2 separate regions of the Homo sapiens genome follow, and region 2 is linked to region 1. Evidence: promoter capture Hi-C in 16 types of primary human blood cells and fetal thymus (Javierre and others, 2016). All regions are on one chromosome and are shown on one strand. The core of a region is centred on a gene start or on the middle of the fragment in contact, and the rest is flanking DNA. Distances in the headings are between cores, read along the strand shown. Region 1 holds the start of GLRX2 (glutaredoxin 2). Region 2 overlaps LOC107985242 (a long non-coding RNA gene).

The links. Contacts are between HindIII fragments. The CHiCAGO score rates a contact against its expected background, and 5 or more counts as called.
Region 2: a fragment that was not itself captured here is called in contact with the fragment with the promoter of GLRX2 in region 1 in 6 of 17 cell types (activated CD4 T cells, total CD4 T cells, naive CD8 T cells and 3 more); the score reaches 11.0 in activated CD4 T cells.

Annotation. Positions count from the first base shown.
Region 1 is chr1:193,102,317-193,108,966 of GRCh38, forward strand. GLRX2 (glutaredoxin 2) reads right to left here and starts at 3,098. Exons shown (of 4, transcript NM_197962.3): 1 at 2,948-3,098. The coding sequence starts at 3,066. RefSeq lists silencers at 2,887-2,986, 2,963-3,257, 3,037-3,276. The HindIII fragment of the contact is 5,966 bases long and covers 1,584-6,650 here.
Region 2 is chr1:194,286,363-194,293,012 of GRCh38, forward strand. All of the region lies in intron 2 of LOC107985242 (a long non-coding RNA gene), which reads right to left. LOC105371670 (a long non-coding RNA gene) reads right to left here. Exons shown (of 3, transcript XR_922390.2): 2 at 5,991-6,066; 3 at 4,877-5,018. Among named protein-coding and RNA genes, the nearest start is that of LINC01031, 980 kb to the left of the region's middle. RefSeq lists a silencer at 3,204-3,404. The HindIII fragment of the contact is 5,907 bases long and covers 124-6,030 here.

The DNA.
Region 1 (6,650 bases), core at 1,848-4,347:
GTCCCAAGCAGAATTTTTTAAACTGGATAGCATGAAATATTAGTCTTCTTTTTGAGATGGAGTCTTGCTCTGTCACCGAGCCTGGAGTGCAGTGGCGTGATCTTGGCTCACTGCAATCTCCGCTTCCCAGGTTCAAACAATTCTCCTGCCTCAGACTCCCGAGTCACTGACACTACAGGTATGTACCACCACACCTGGCTAATTTTTTGTATTTTTAGTAGAGATGGGGTTTCACCATGTTGACCATGCTGGTCTCGAACTCCTGACCTCATATGATCAACCTACCTCGGCCTCCCAAAGTGCTGGGATTACAGGTGTAAGCCACCGCGCCTGGCCTGAAATACTAGTCTTATTTTAAGTGAATCCACTCTAATAGCTTTTTCCAGTACATCTTATCCTTGGATAATGAACATCTGCCCTACACAGTAGTCCCCCTTTATCCACGGTTTCAGTTATCCAAGGTCAGCTGTGGTCCAAAAACATTACATGGAAAATTTCAGAAGAAAATAGTTCGTAAGTTTTAAGTAGCATGATGAAATCTTGAGCCATCTAGCTTCCTCCTACCCAGGGTATGAATCCTCCCTTTGTCCAGCATATGGACTCTGTATAAGCTCCCCACGCTTTAGTCAACAGCTGTCTTGGTGACCAGATCGACTGTCACAGTGTGGTGATGCTTGTGTTCAAGTAACCCTTATTTTACTTAATAATGGCTCCAACAAGAGTGAAACTCCGTCTTAAATAATAATAATAATAATGGCTCCAAACCACTAGAGTAGTGATGCTGGCAATTCAGGTACGTCAAAGAGAAGCCCTAAAGTGCTTCCTTTAAGTGAAACGGTGAAAGTTCTCCACCTAATAGGAAAAAAAAAATCACACGCTGAGGTTGCTAAGGTCTATGGTAAGAACGGATCTTCTATCAGTGCAGTTGTAAAGAAGTAAAAAATTCATGGCAGTTTTGATGTCACACCTCAAACTGCAAGTTACAGCCACAAGGTATAAGTGCTTAGTTAAGCCAGAAAAGGTATTAAATTTGTGGAGACAAGAACAGAAAAAGTGTTCCAACTGACAGCAATGTGTTATGCCAAAAAGCACTGGGCCTATGAGAAGATTCAGCAAGGGATTCCTTGAAATGAGCATTTTGTTATTAAAGTGATTGTTCTTTTATTATTGTTGTTAATCTCTTACTCTGCCTAATTTATAAATTAAACTTTATCATAGGCAAGTATGTATAGGAAAATAGCATGTATAGGGTTCAGTACTATCCGAGGTTTTAGGCATCCACCGAGGGTCTTGGAACGTGTCCACCACGGATAAGGGGGAACGATTATGATATCAGCTCACCTAGAGTGAGGAAGCTACAGCAAACATCAGTTTGTTCAGTTATAACAAAGAAGAGTAAGAGACAGGAATTAAACATTATAACATTATAACCTACCCAATGTTTACAATCTATTATTCCTTGCTTCCTAATAGTATTAGCAAGGAACACTTTAAAACAAAAAAAAAAGTCCTGTGCGCTTAACTCAGGAAGGAGTTAAGGGTAGCGAGCTAGGGAGACTGCAGCCAACCTGAGAGGAGGGTGAAGCTTTAAGATAAAAGAAAGTTGAGTTCCTGAAGCCTAAACCAGAAAAGGTTAGGCAGCACTGGCCTAGCCCTAAGGAAGAGCATTGGTGGAATAAATCAGCAAGCTGTATTTGGTTTATCAACTAAGAAAGCAAGTCCTTTCATCTCAGGTCCAGCACTTAAACTGTCATACCCAAACCATCTACTACAGCATTTACTACTGAAGGAGCTCCAATAGAACACAAGAGAATGTTTTCTTGGGTAGTGAGAGGAGGTAGGAGGTGCATTCTGAAATATTACCCAAATAAAAGTTTCTGGAAGACACCCTTTCCCTTCAATTTCTAGTTGACCTTGGTAAAAACTGTCGCGAACTATGAATAGAAACATGCACGGAGGAAGTAAGTGCACAATAAACATTTCATTTCAACACAGATGAAGCACCTAGTCATGCCACATTTATGGAGCGCCTACTGTGTGCTAAGTAGGCAAAGTGCTATATTGACCCCAGGGATACGCAGAAAAAAACACGGCGGGGCCTCAAAGAGCTGTCAAACACTTAACAGCCTGTGATTAGCCCTTCAGGAGGGGTCTCTAGCTTGGTCTGGAAAGTTAAACTTGAGATTCCTAGAATCTTGCAAAACTGATAGAAGCTCCCAGATCAAGTAGATAGCGAGACAGACTCTCCGGCCAAGTGCGCAGTGGCAGGCGCGGAAGTGCGAGCCGGCAGGACCGCCAGGCACCAGCCGCGCGGGCGTGGGCAGCACAGCCGCAGTTCCCTTCCACTGCAGGTCCCGAAGCCGCTGATATTCCAAACGAGGAAGTGTAAGGAAAGCACTATCCTCGGTCTAGCCGCAGGCGGCATCACCATCAGTCAGCCTCTATCCTAAAAGCTCTGGCCATTCAGCGGGAATCATCGCCTTCACTTCCTGCAGTAGGGTGGCTAAGTTTAGCAAACAAGAATGCAGGACGCCCGGTCAAATTAGAATTGTAACCAAACACCAGAAAACTGTTCCGTTTTTCCTATGTCCACTGCAGTATTTGGGACACACTTGGACTAAGAATCATTCGCTCTTTCAGAGAAATTCCAATTGATTGCGGCGTCTTGTATTTTATGTAGCAATTCACAGAGGGATGGCCTAAGTGAACATGAGTGAAGTATTTTCAACGCGAGAGTCACAGGCTCCTGAAGTCAGCACAGCCGCGGAGGGCACCCTTCCCTGCCCATCCCTCGAGCGCCTCTGCGTGTTATGACTCAGAGCCCACGCGCTAGTACGCCTCGCCCACCCGGCGCCGGGGCAAAGGGGCACCTCCGCCCACCGCTTTCTCCAGACCCCCGCAAGGCCTGCGCACCACGCCGCGGCACTCCTGCCCGCTGACCCCGTACCCAGAGGCCGCAGCTGCCGCAGCTCCCGCAGCTCCCGCCGCCCTGTCAAGCCAGCCTGCCGAGCCGCTCCTGCTCCAAACCAGCCGCGTCCCCGCCAGCGCCGCGCGGCGCCAAATCATGGTCAGAGCCCGGATCTGCAGCGAGCTCTACTGCCGGACACCGCGGATCCCGGGAGCCCGCCTCCTCCGGCCCGGCCCCCGCCTTGCCCCGCCCCGTCCCGCCCCTCCGGACTGCCCGCGCCGCCGCCGGTCACCTCCTCGCAGCTGAGCGCGTCCTCCCAGGGCTGCCCGAGCGCTGGATTCCAGCGAGTGCCACCCACGTGTAAACATCCTTTAGAGGGGAGAAGCGGCTCACTTGCTTATCTCGAGGGTTCATCCGAGCCCCGCCTCTGGATTCTTTTAGGTTTAGGGACGCTCATAAAGGCTCCCAGGCACTTGGAAGCAGTGCATGAGGATGGTGGCAGACATGCTGGGGAAACGGAGGAGAAAAAACATGACCATCCAAAACAGAATCAAAGTGGTGCCTCAGATGTTTCCAACTACCTGTTACACAAGTTTTTGTGTGGATGAAATAAGAGCCTAAATATATCCTCTTATAATTAGGCAATTGGTCGAGACCCAATGTAAATTATGGGGATATTGGGGTTTACATCCATAATTAAAAGAAAAAATCCGGTGTTGAAGGTTTACTCCAAAGAAGACAAAGATTATTTCCCACCACCTGCCAAAAAAAAAAAATTAGGAAACAAAACAAAAGAAATTAGCACAGAGATGTTTCACCATGGCTTTGGAAATGGGCGATTGCTGTTGACAGGATTATTTAAGCCACTCAGTGGTGGTAATAATAGCCTTTGTGCGTCACTATTTAAGGTTGGGGGTAAGCCTTTATTTACTGAGGACACTGAAATTCATCTTAAAGTCAAAGGTCAAATGGTACATCTAAAATTCTAAACAATTATTACAACAATCCAGAGCTTTTTTGATTCTTCATGTTCAACTAAGTGTAAAATTCATGTTACCAAAGTACAAAATAAGAACTTGTATTTCTGACAGTTCTTTTCCAACATTCAAATGGGCTATGTTTGATTACTTAATAAAAGGATGGAAGTTAGTTGCAAAAATAAATACCCCCAAAGGGTAGGAATTCATTCTTTTTAAAGACAAATTTGACTTTGAAAATTAAGGCATGTGGCCAGGCGCGATGGCCTGTCCTGTAATGTGGCCATTACAGGACTGCCCGCTGACCCCGTACCCAGAGGCCGCAGCTGCCGCAGCTCCCGCAGTGGCCAGTCCTGTAATCCCAGCACTTTAGGAAGCCGAGGCGGGCGGGTCACCTGAGGTTGGGGGTTCAAGACCAGCCCCTCCAATATTGGTGAAACGCCGTCTCTACTAAAAATACAAAATTAGCCGGGCGTGGTGGCGCATGCCCGTAATCCCAGCTACTCGGGAGGCTGAGGCAGGAGAATCGCTTGAATCCATGAGGCAGAGTTTGCAGTGAGCCAAGATCACACGATTGCACTCCAGCCTGGGCAACAAGAGCAAAACTCCGTCTCATAAAAAAATAAATAAATAAAATAAAATAAAAATTAAGGTATGTTATCTATCTATAGTGTTGTGGGCTTTTTAATTTTTTTATAAAACTATTTTGGAAATTTATGGTGTTATGTTAGTTTTGAAGTCAAATTTTACCTCATCTCAAATTGTTTTATGAAATAAAGATCATTATGAGGTGAACCGATCATGTTACAATTTAATTTTAATACAGCATAGATGGACTATTATCAAGCACAGAATTCACTGGACAGATTTTTTTAAGGATTTCAGAATGTAAAGTACTTCAGAAGAAAGTGTTATGCCTGAATTCAGCATAATATATTAATAAATATATTGATAATTTTCAACTTCTTTGTGCTTCGTGGGGTAGCTACAGAAGTGATTATTATTTTTGGTCATAGTTGTGATGACTGCAATAGCAAGTTAAGAAATATGTCAGCAGACAGTAGAACGGTGGTTGCCAGGGCCTGGGAGAAGGTGGAAATGGGGAGATGTTGGTCAAAGGGTACAGAGTTTCAATTATGCGAGATAGGTAAGTTCTAGAGAGCTAAAGTACAGCAATGTGACTATAGTTAGGAAAATCGCAATGTATGCTTGAAATTTGCTAAGAGGGTAGATCTTGTGTTCTCACACTTGCACACAAGAAAGAAAATGGGGCCAGGTGCGGTGGCTCACGCCTGTAATCCCAGCACTTTGGGAAGCTGAGATGGGTGGATCAACTGAGGTCAGGAGTTCAAGACCAGCCTGGCCAATATGATGAAACCCCATCTCAACTGAAAATACAAAAATTAGCCGAGCATGGTAGCACGCGCCTGTAATCCCAGCTACTCGGGAGGCTGAGGCAGGAGAATCGCTTGAACCTGGGAGGCAGAGGTTGCAGTGAGTTGAGATTGCGTCACTGCACTCCAACTTGAGCGACAGAGTAAGACTGTCTGGAAAAAAAAAGAAAGAAAGAAAAAGAGAGAAGAAAATAAAGGGAATAGAAAAAAATGGTAAATATGAAAGGTGGTGGCTATGTTAATTAGCTTGATTGTGATAGTTATTATACAGTGTATCAGGCTTTGGAATGAATGTTTGTCCCCTCTGACACTTATGTTGAAACTGTCCAATGTGGCAGTGCTGACAGGTGGGGCCTTTGAGAGATGATTGGGCATGAGAGCTGGAACATGAATGAATGGATTAATGGGTGATCATGGGAGTAGAACTGGCAGCTTTATAAAACAGAGTTCTCTGCTGCCTTGTCCCATGATGTCCTACATGGCTTGGGGAATCTGCAGAGTTCCCACCAGCAAGAAGGTCATTACCAGATGTGACCTCTTGACCTTGCACTTCTCAGCATTCAATACTGTAAGAACAATTTATATACAAATTACTCAGCTTCAGATATTCTGTTATAAGCAACAGAAAATGGACTAAGACATATACATGTATCAAAATATCAAGTTGTACATTTTAAAAGTAAAGTGACAGACCAGGCATGGTGGCTCACGCCTGTAATCCCAGCACTTTGGGAGCCTGAGGCAGGTGGATCACAAGGTCAGGAGTTCGAGACCAGCCTGGCCAATATGGTGAAACCCCGTCTCTACTAAAAATACAAAAAAAAATTAGCTGGGTGTGGTGGCGCATGCCTGTACTCCCAGCTACTCTGGTGGCTGAGGCAGGAGAATTGCTTGAACCCGGGAGGCAGAGGTTGCAGTGAGCTAAGATGGCTCCACTGCATTACATCCTGGGTGACAGAGTGAGACTCCATCTCAAAAAAAAAAAAAAGTTGTTGGCATGAAGACGTGAAGGCAGGCCAACTGGAAGGGAAGCATCCTATATGACTGGTTTGGGGAGCATATTTGGAAAGCTGGTAGTCATTAACCAAGTTCTAATTGTTCTGGTCTGTTTGCTCGAAGTCAGAGTTTTATTGTCATGTGTGTTCTGCCCATTATCCATTTATATATTCAGTCCCTCACCATTAAATAATGGGATTCCATAGTTAACCTCTTGTTCCTGAATTCTATAAATTTTATGTGCCCACTATGTGCCAAGCACTGTAGTGAACAGCACAGAAATGACACTAGCATTCATGAAAACCTAGGATAATACATAAGAGGAAGGCCTAAATTGAATTTGATATTTTGGAAGGAATGGCAGAGGAAGAAACT
Region 2 (6,650 bases), core at 1,827-4,326, 1.2 Mb after region 1:
GAAGACAATAGGTATTTGCTTTACCTGCTATCTCCACTACACAATGCAAATGCCCGCCCCACCCCACCCCACACTCTCAATTTCCCTTATTTTGTACTAGTTTTTCTTTTCATGGGCCTTATAAGCTTCTTACTGGTATCTTATTGGTACTTATCTTGGTTCATTGGTATTTCTCATTAAAATGTAAGCTCTACAAAGCAGAAGTCTTTATACATTTATATTGTATATTTTTACAGAGATTTCTGCAGATAGATCTGTGATTAGAATAGAGCTTGGCAAATATTAGGTTATCATTAAGTTATTTTAATATGAATAATTAATAAATGAATGAAAAAGTGAGTGATTCTGAAAAGCAAAGTCCCAGAGTTATATATATTTAAACAATGTAGATATTTGAATTTTCAATCAGAAATCACAATAATCCTTACAATTTATTTTATTTTATTTTATTTTATTTTCGAGACAGAGTTTCGTTCTTGTTGCCTAGGCTGGAGCGCAATGGCGCCATCTTGGCTCACTGCAACTTCTGCCTTCTGGGTTCAAATGATTCTCCTGCCTCAGCCTCCTGAAAAGCTGGGATTACAGGCATGCACCACCACACCCAGCTAATTTTTTTGTATTTTTCGTAGGGACGGCATTTCTCCATGTTGGTCAGGCTAGTCTCGAACTCCCAACCTCAGGTGATTCACCCGCCTTGGCCTCCCAAAATGCTGGGATTACAAGCATGAGCCACCGTGCCGGACCAATCCTTACAACTTTAAGGATGTTTTTCATTCCTACATATTATTGAATTTATGTACCAGTTTAATGACAGAAGTAATTTTTTTTTTTTTTTTTTGAGATACAGTCTTGCTTTATTTCCCAGTCTGAAGTGCAGTGGCATGATCGTAGCTCACTGCAACTTCTGACTCCTGGGTTCAATTAACTCTCCTGGCCTCAGCCTCTGGAGTAGCTGGTACTACAGGTGTGCACCACTGCATCTGGCTGAGTTTTTGGTTTTTTGAAATTTTTGTGGAGACAGGGTCTTGCCATGTTGCCCAGGCTAGTCTCAAACTCCTGGCCTCAAGTGATACTCCCACCTCAGCCTCCCAAACTGCTGGGATTACAGATGGGAGCCACTGTGCTCATCCAGAAGTAATTTTTGAACTAAAACATGGCAGATCATTCCTGATTTGCCTTGAGAATTGCAAGACCTCTCCTCATAAAATATATGAGAATGGGAAAATAGCCACAATATGCCATTATGTACAGACAAATCCAAGAAGGAATTTATTCAGAGACCCAGAAACATGGAAAGTAGGTTGATTATACGGGGATAGATTTCAATACAGAACATGAAAAAAGACTTGAGAAAAACACAAGAATCTATGTGGGAAGTCGAATATCATTCCTAATAATGCAATTTTTTAATTATTAAGTATCCAGAGTTGCAGTTACCCAATCCCAGTGTACTAGATAAATGGGAACTCAGAAATAGTGACAAAAGCAGGAAGAAAATCATAGTAATTGGGAAGAATAGGCTAGGAGTTGGATGTGTAAATCGCATTTCCTGACTGAGCACTGTGCAACGTGGCCATGCCACAGTAGAGGTGCAAAATGGTGGCTGCTCATTTGGCCTCTTCCCACTCCAACAGCATTCTTTTTTTATAGTGTCTATTTTGAATCATGTAGTTTTCATAACCTATACCCTGATATTAATTTAATGATATAAAATAATGCAAATTATTTTATAATTGCTCTATGATGCATTTCTTTACAAAAGACAGTGGATTTGTAAAGACATCCATTTTTATATCCTGTTGTCTTCACAAACCCACTCATGGCTACTGGTCAACATATCAATTAAAACCCTATAGGAAGAGCCAATAATTATGTTTACTTATATTCAGGGCAATGAAAATGTCAGCACATTCAGCATCCTTATACGATTACAACCTTCTGTATACTTCAGAACACATATGACAGGTAATTTAATATCTGGCATAGTGGAAAATTCCAGCAAATCTAACAACTCCCTAATGGCATCTTGCCACAGATGTTTAATAGGGGAAGAGAATGTATCAAATCTGTATTCCTATTTAAGTCCTAGAGAAATGAGCTTGTTTATTTATAGCAAAACAATGCTTTTACAGTAGCACTTAAAATATATTGCCTGTCAGTTTTAATATTTATTATGACATAAGTGACTGATAGAAACAGGAAGAAATAATATTTTAAAGACAGAAAGATACAGCTTTGTTGAATTCTTTCTGAGACTCAGGTTAAGAAAGCTGTAAGTGACAGCTACTTTGAAGGAAGAATATTACTTACTAGAATTTCAAATAATGAAAATAATAAAACAGATAAAAGAAAAGAAAACTATTATTTTCTTTCAGACTATAAATTTCCACTTCTATGTAGACGACAAATCACTCATCGCTCTCTAGCATGTATGCAAACAGATAGATTAAAAGCTAAGTAACCAAAGAAATGGAAAGATCAACTTTCTTGTGACAGAACATCCAAAAATGTCAAGAGGTAACTTTGGGAAAAGAGATTACAAGAGAAGACTGAGCACATTTCATTTCCTCCCTCCTTTCTTGAAGGAGATAATCAGTCATGAATATCATCGCTTTTTTTTTTCCATTTTCTCCTTTTACAATTTTGAGTTGATTTTGCCCTTTGAAATCACTTTCTCTAACCTCTCCAGTAAAAACCAATACCTGAACTAAAATAAAATAAAAAACTTAAAACAAACATTTATATTTAAATCCTTTTTAGTCCAAATTTGGGAAGAAGAGAAATAGCATAAAATAATGGCTTGTTACAGATGTATTTTTCTATTATTATTATTTTTTAAATTTATAACTTTTATTAACAAAACAAACTGAGGAGAAGGGCCAAAGAACACTGGTTTTGGAAGTTGGATGAATAAGTAAGTGATAGAAACAGGGTTAAAATATCAGTAAACATAATTTTCCCATGGGTAACTTCATAAATGACTAAGTAAGAACTGATTAAGTATTTTGGTTTGCATTGTTAAAGATTATGAAACTCAAAAAATTTACAAGCCTCTTGAAAATCTTAAACATACAATATTTAAAAATATGCAGCTGGTTCTTGGGGAAATATAGAAGTGTCATATAAATGCTCATTACAACATATTTCAAATTATAATAATGCTGATATTTCTAACAAAACACAAGAGCCCTTGTGACCTGCTTCTATCCAAGTGTATCTTTAATCTCACTTACCTTTTTTATGTATGCAAGTGGTACGATGGAGATGTAGGGCTTCATGAGAGAGACAATGCATGCAGGAATGCACCTGCATTGCCCCTGTTATGCAGCTAGCAGATGGAAATGTGGTTAAGAACTTCCTCTTATACCAGAATGTTTGCTCAGAAGGGACTGTCCCAACTTAGGCGCAGGTGTAATAAATCAACTAAATGTCCTTAACTTGACTCAAGCTCATTATAATATCATTAGCATGACATCTGCATTGTGGTTTCACCACCACCACCCCTACTACCCACTGGGCCTTTCTGTGGTGCTTATGCATAATAATTAAGATGGAATAACTATGGACAAGAACGCACCTGGGCAGTAAGAACTGGGACCAGGAAGCAACTAGGAAGTAAAAGGTTGTGCAAGATGCAAATGAGAAACACACCCCTAGAAATGAGGTTTTTAATCCCCTAGGGCAACCCACTTTTGAGTCCCCTCTCCTTACTGAGCGCTTTCTGTCACTTAATAAAGTCTATTCTGCCATACTCACCCTCCTATGTCCATGTACCTCATTCATCGTGGTGGTGAGACAAGAACTCAGACCTCGCTAAGCTAAGGAGTAAGGCTTCTGCAACAGAACAAGCCAGAATTTCCTACATGAAATATTTATTTTCACATCTTTGTGATGTTCTGACAGTGTGCTGAAGGAAAATGACTTTTTTCCATTCTTTATTTTAAAATTTTGTATTTATTATTAAAGACTCATATTAAGTATTTCCTTTAAACTCCTTTCCTGGATCTCTGATATGAGTTGAATTTACCTCATTTACGATGGCAACCTAAACATACCATTATATCATCACTTAGTGTACTGTATAAAAATCTGTTTTCTATGGGTTACCTCTTCTACTAGGCTATAAGATCCCTATTTTGATTAACCTGGCTTTACTTACCTCTGTCTTTCAGTGTCTAGAATGTGCTAAAAATTTTTATCATAACATAATGAGGTCATTCTTAGTACTAGACAATTGGTAATAGGGTCCAGCCCCCTTGGTACCCATGGAATTAGCAGTTAACTTTTTGGCTCCCACAAGTAATGAGATTTATTGTACACCATCATCAAAATAATAAGTCTTAAAAAGGAGTATATCCTGCAGATGTAGAAACTTTACTACACATTATAACTACATCTTTTTGCCTCTGTTTATTCTGAAAGAAAAGCAATTTAACCTGATGTTTTAACGTCATGTGGTGCATACTATATAATATTAAAGCATGTAAATGGGGTGGTGGTGATCAATGCCTTGATAAACTTAGTTAGTGGTTTTCTTTCAACAGGCAAACCTCTAGGCTTAGTGTAAAGACGTTCTATGATATTTGTTCTAACCAGGACTAAGTCACTCCTTGTATTAGTAAGAAAATACTGTGGAAGACTAGAAACAAGGTGGTGGGGGTAGGGGTAAAAAGAAGAAGAGAAGGGGCGAGGATGAGAGGGAAGGAAGGGGAGAGGAAGAGAGGAGTAAGTGGAAGAGAGAGAGAGGAGAAATAAAGACACAGAAATAAAAAGAAAGGGAAATAGAAAAGATGCTTTCTTCTTCCTTCCTTGCTTGCTTGATTGCTATCTTGCTTGCTTTCTTTCTTTCTCTCTTTCTTTCTTTTTCTTTCTTCTTTTTCTTTTTTCTTTCAATGAAAATGTGTCATAGGAACAAATGTGGTGTTCCCTCTGAGACAACTACACTCCCAGGTGCCTCTTCCAACACATTTTCGTTCTCTTTTTATCATGGCATAGACAATTGTCAGCACTGCTGAAAACTAAATACAGAAAAAGTTGGTTGAGGTTATACTATTCCTTTCATGCTACAATGATGTAACATCATTAAGATCAAAGGGAATTGTTAACTTTCCTCTAATAATAAAAAACACACAAAAATACTGAAACCTTGGATAGGCTTACGAACATTTTAAAAGGCAGAATAACTTTCCCTTACTCAGGATAAATTTTGCCTCTTATCTCTAAATATTATCCTACTGTTTGACAAGAAATAAAAAAATTACTAAATCTTTCACATCCCATATTTTACTGCTGTCTATATTTTACATTTGATATAAACATTTTACAGCAGGTATTGTACACTGAAATTTGGATTCATTTATCTCATAAAAAGGAATACAAATGATGGATTGAAACACCCTGGTATCTAAAATTCTAAAAACATTAATATTTTTACTGAAAGTTATAGATTATATTAACACCAGGGTATAGTCAGTGAAAATACTCCCTACAGTTTAGTGTCAATAGTCTGAACAGCAGTCAGTTTTCCATAAAACATGAAAGCCAACAAATTCTGTTATTGGGTAACAAGCTGATCTAAGCCTAATCTATAGTTATTTACTTGAATGGTACAAGTGGATAAAAACATGTAACATCTTTTAAATGCTTATAAAAAATTTAAAGATAAATGCTAGTTTAATTATAGTCATATGCAAATAGGTTTTATTGTTAATACTGAATATAAAGTATAAAAACATAAATTATAGTCTTATGATAGAGACAAATGTCAGCCTTAATTGATGACACTCTATAAGCAATTTTCTGCTTGTAACATTTGTTTTAATTTTCTCACACAAATAACAGAACTTGCATTCATATAATTAAACATACATGGACTATTAATATTTTTGACATCATCTAGGGAATTTACTTAATTACGCTTCACTCTCTAAAACGTGTATTTACTGTTAAATTCTGAAGTAAATAATAACATTCAACAATATTTTCTATACCTCTGGAATTATAAATCCAGGACTGAAAACAACCCATGGAAGCTTGATCATCTCTCAGGAAAAATGTTCTGTAAGTCTGGAATATATACAAGTAATATTATCAATCACTAACTGTAAGTAAATAATTAATATTATTGTAAGGGCTATTATTTAATCTTTTAATCTACATATAGGATAGGTGTTTCATTTAACTTATAAAAATAATTATATAAAAATAAGAATTATTACTGCTTATACAAATTTTGAGGCTTTGCAATTCTGCTGCAGTAATATGGCTAAAAATAAATTGTACAAAGAAACACTTAAGGACATATAATGTGAAAGTATATGTGAATACAGTCAGAAATATTCTGGTAATGACTAGATATACGAATTTAGAGGATTGTTTTCCTCATCTTGTTAAGGTTTATTTGTTTATTTATCTTTATTTGTATTCAATAATCTTTAGTCCTAGAAAATTTTAGGGGAGAGTAAAAGAGAGTAAAGACATCCGTAAATTGTATGATTCATACTATGACCCAAAGACTGAGATCATCAGATATTGCAGAGAAAAAAAATCTTTTATTGAAACCCTCAAATAGTTTAGCCACAGTATAAACTGTAGAAGATGAAATGATGAACAAATATTCAATGCTCATACCCAAAAACAGGGGTTTTCAA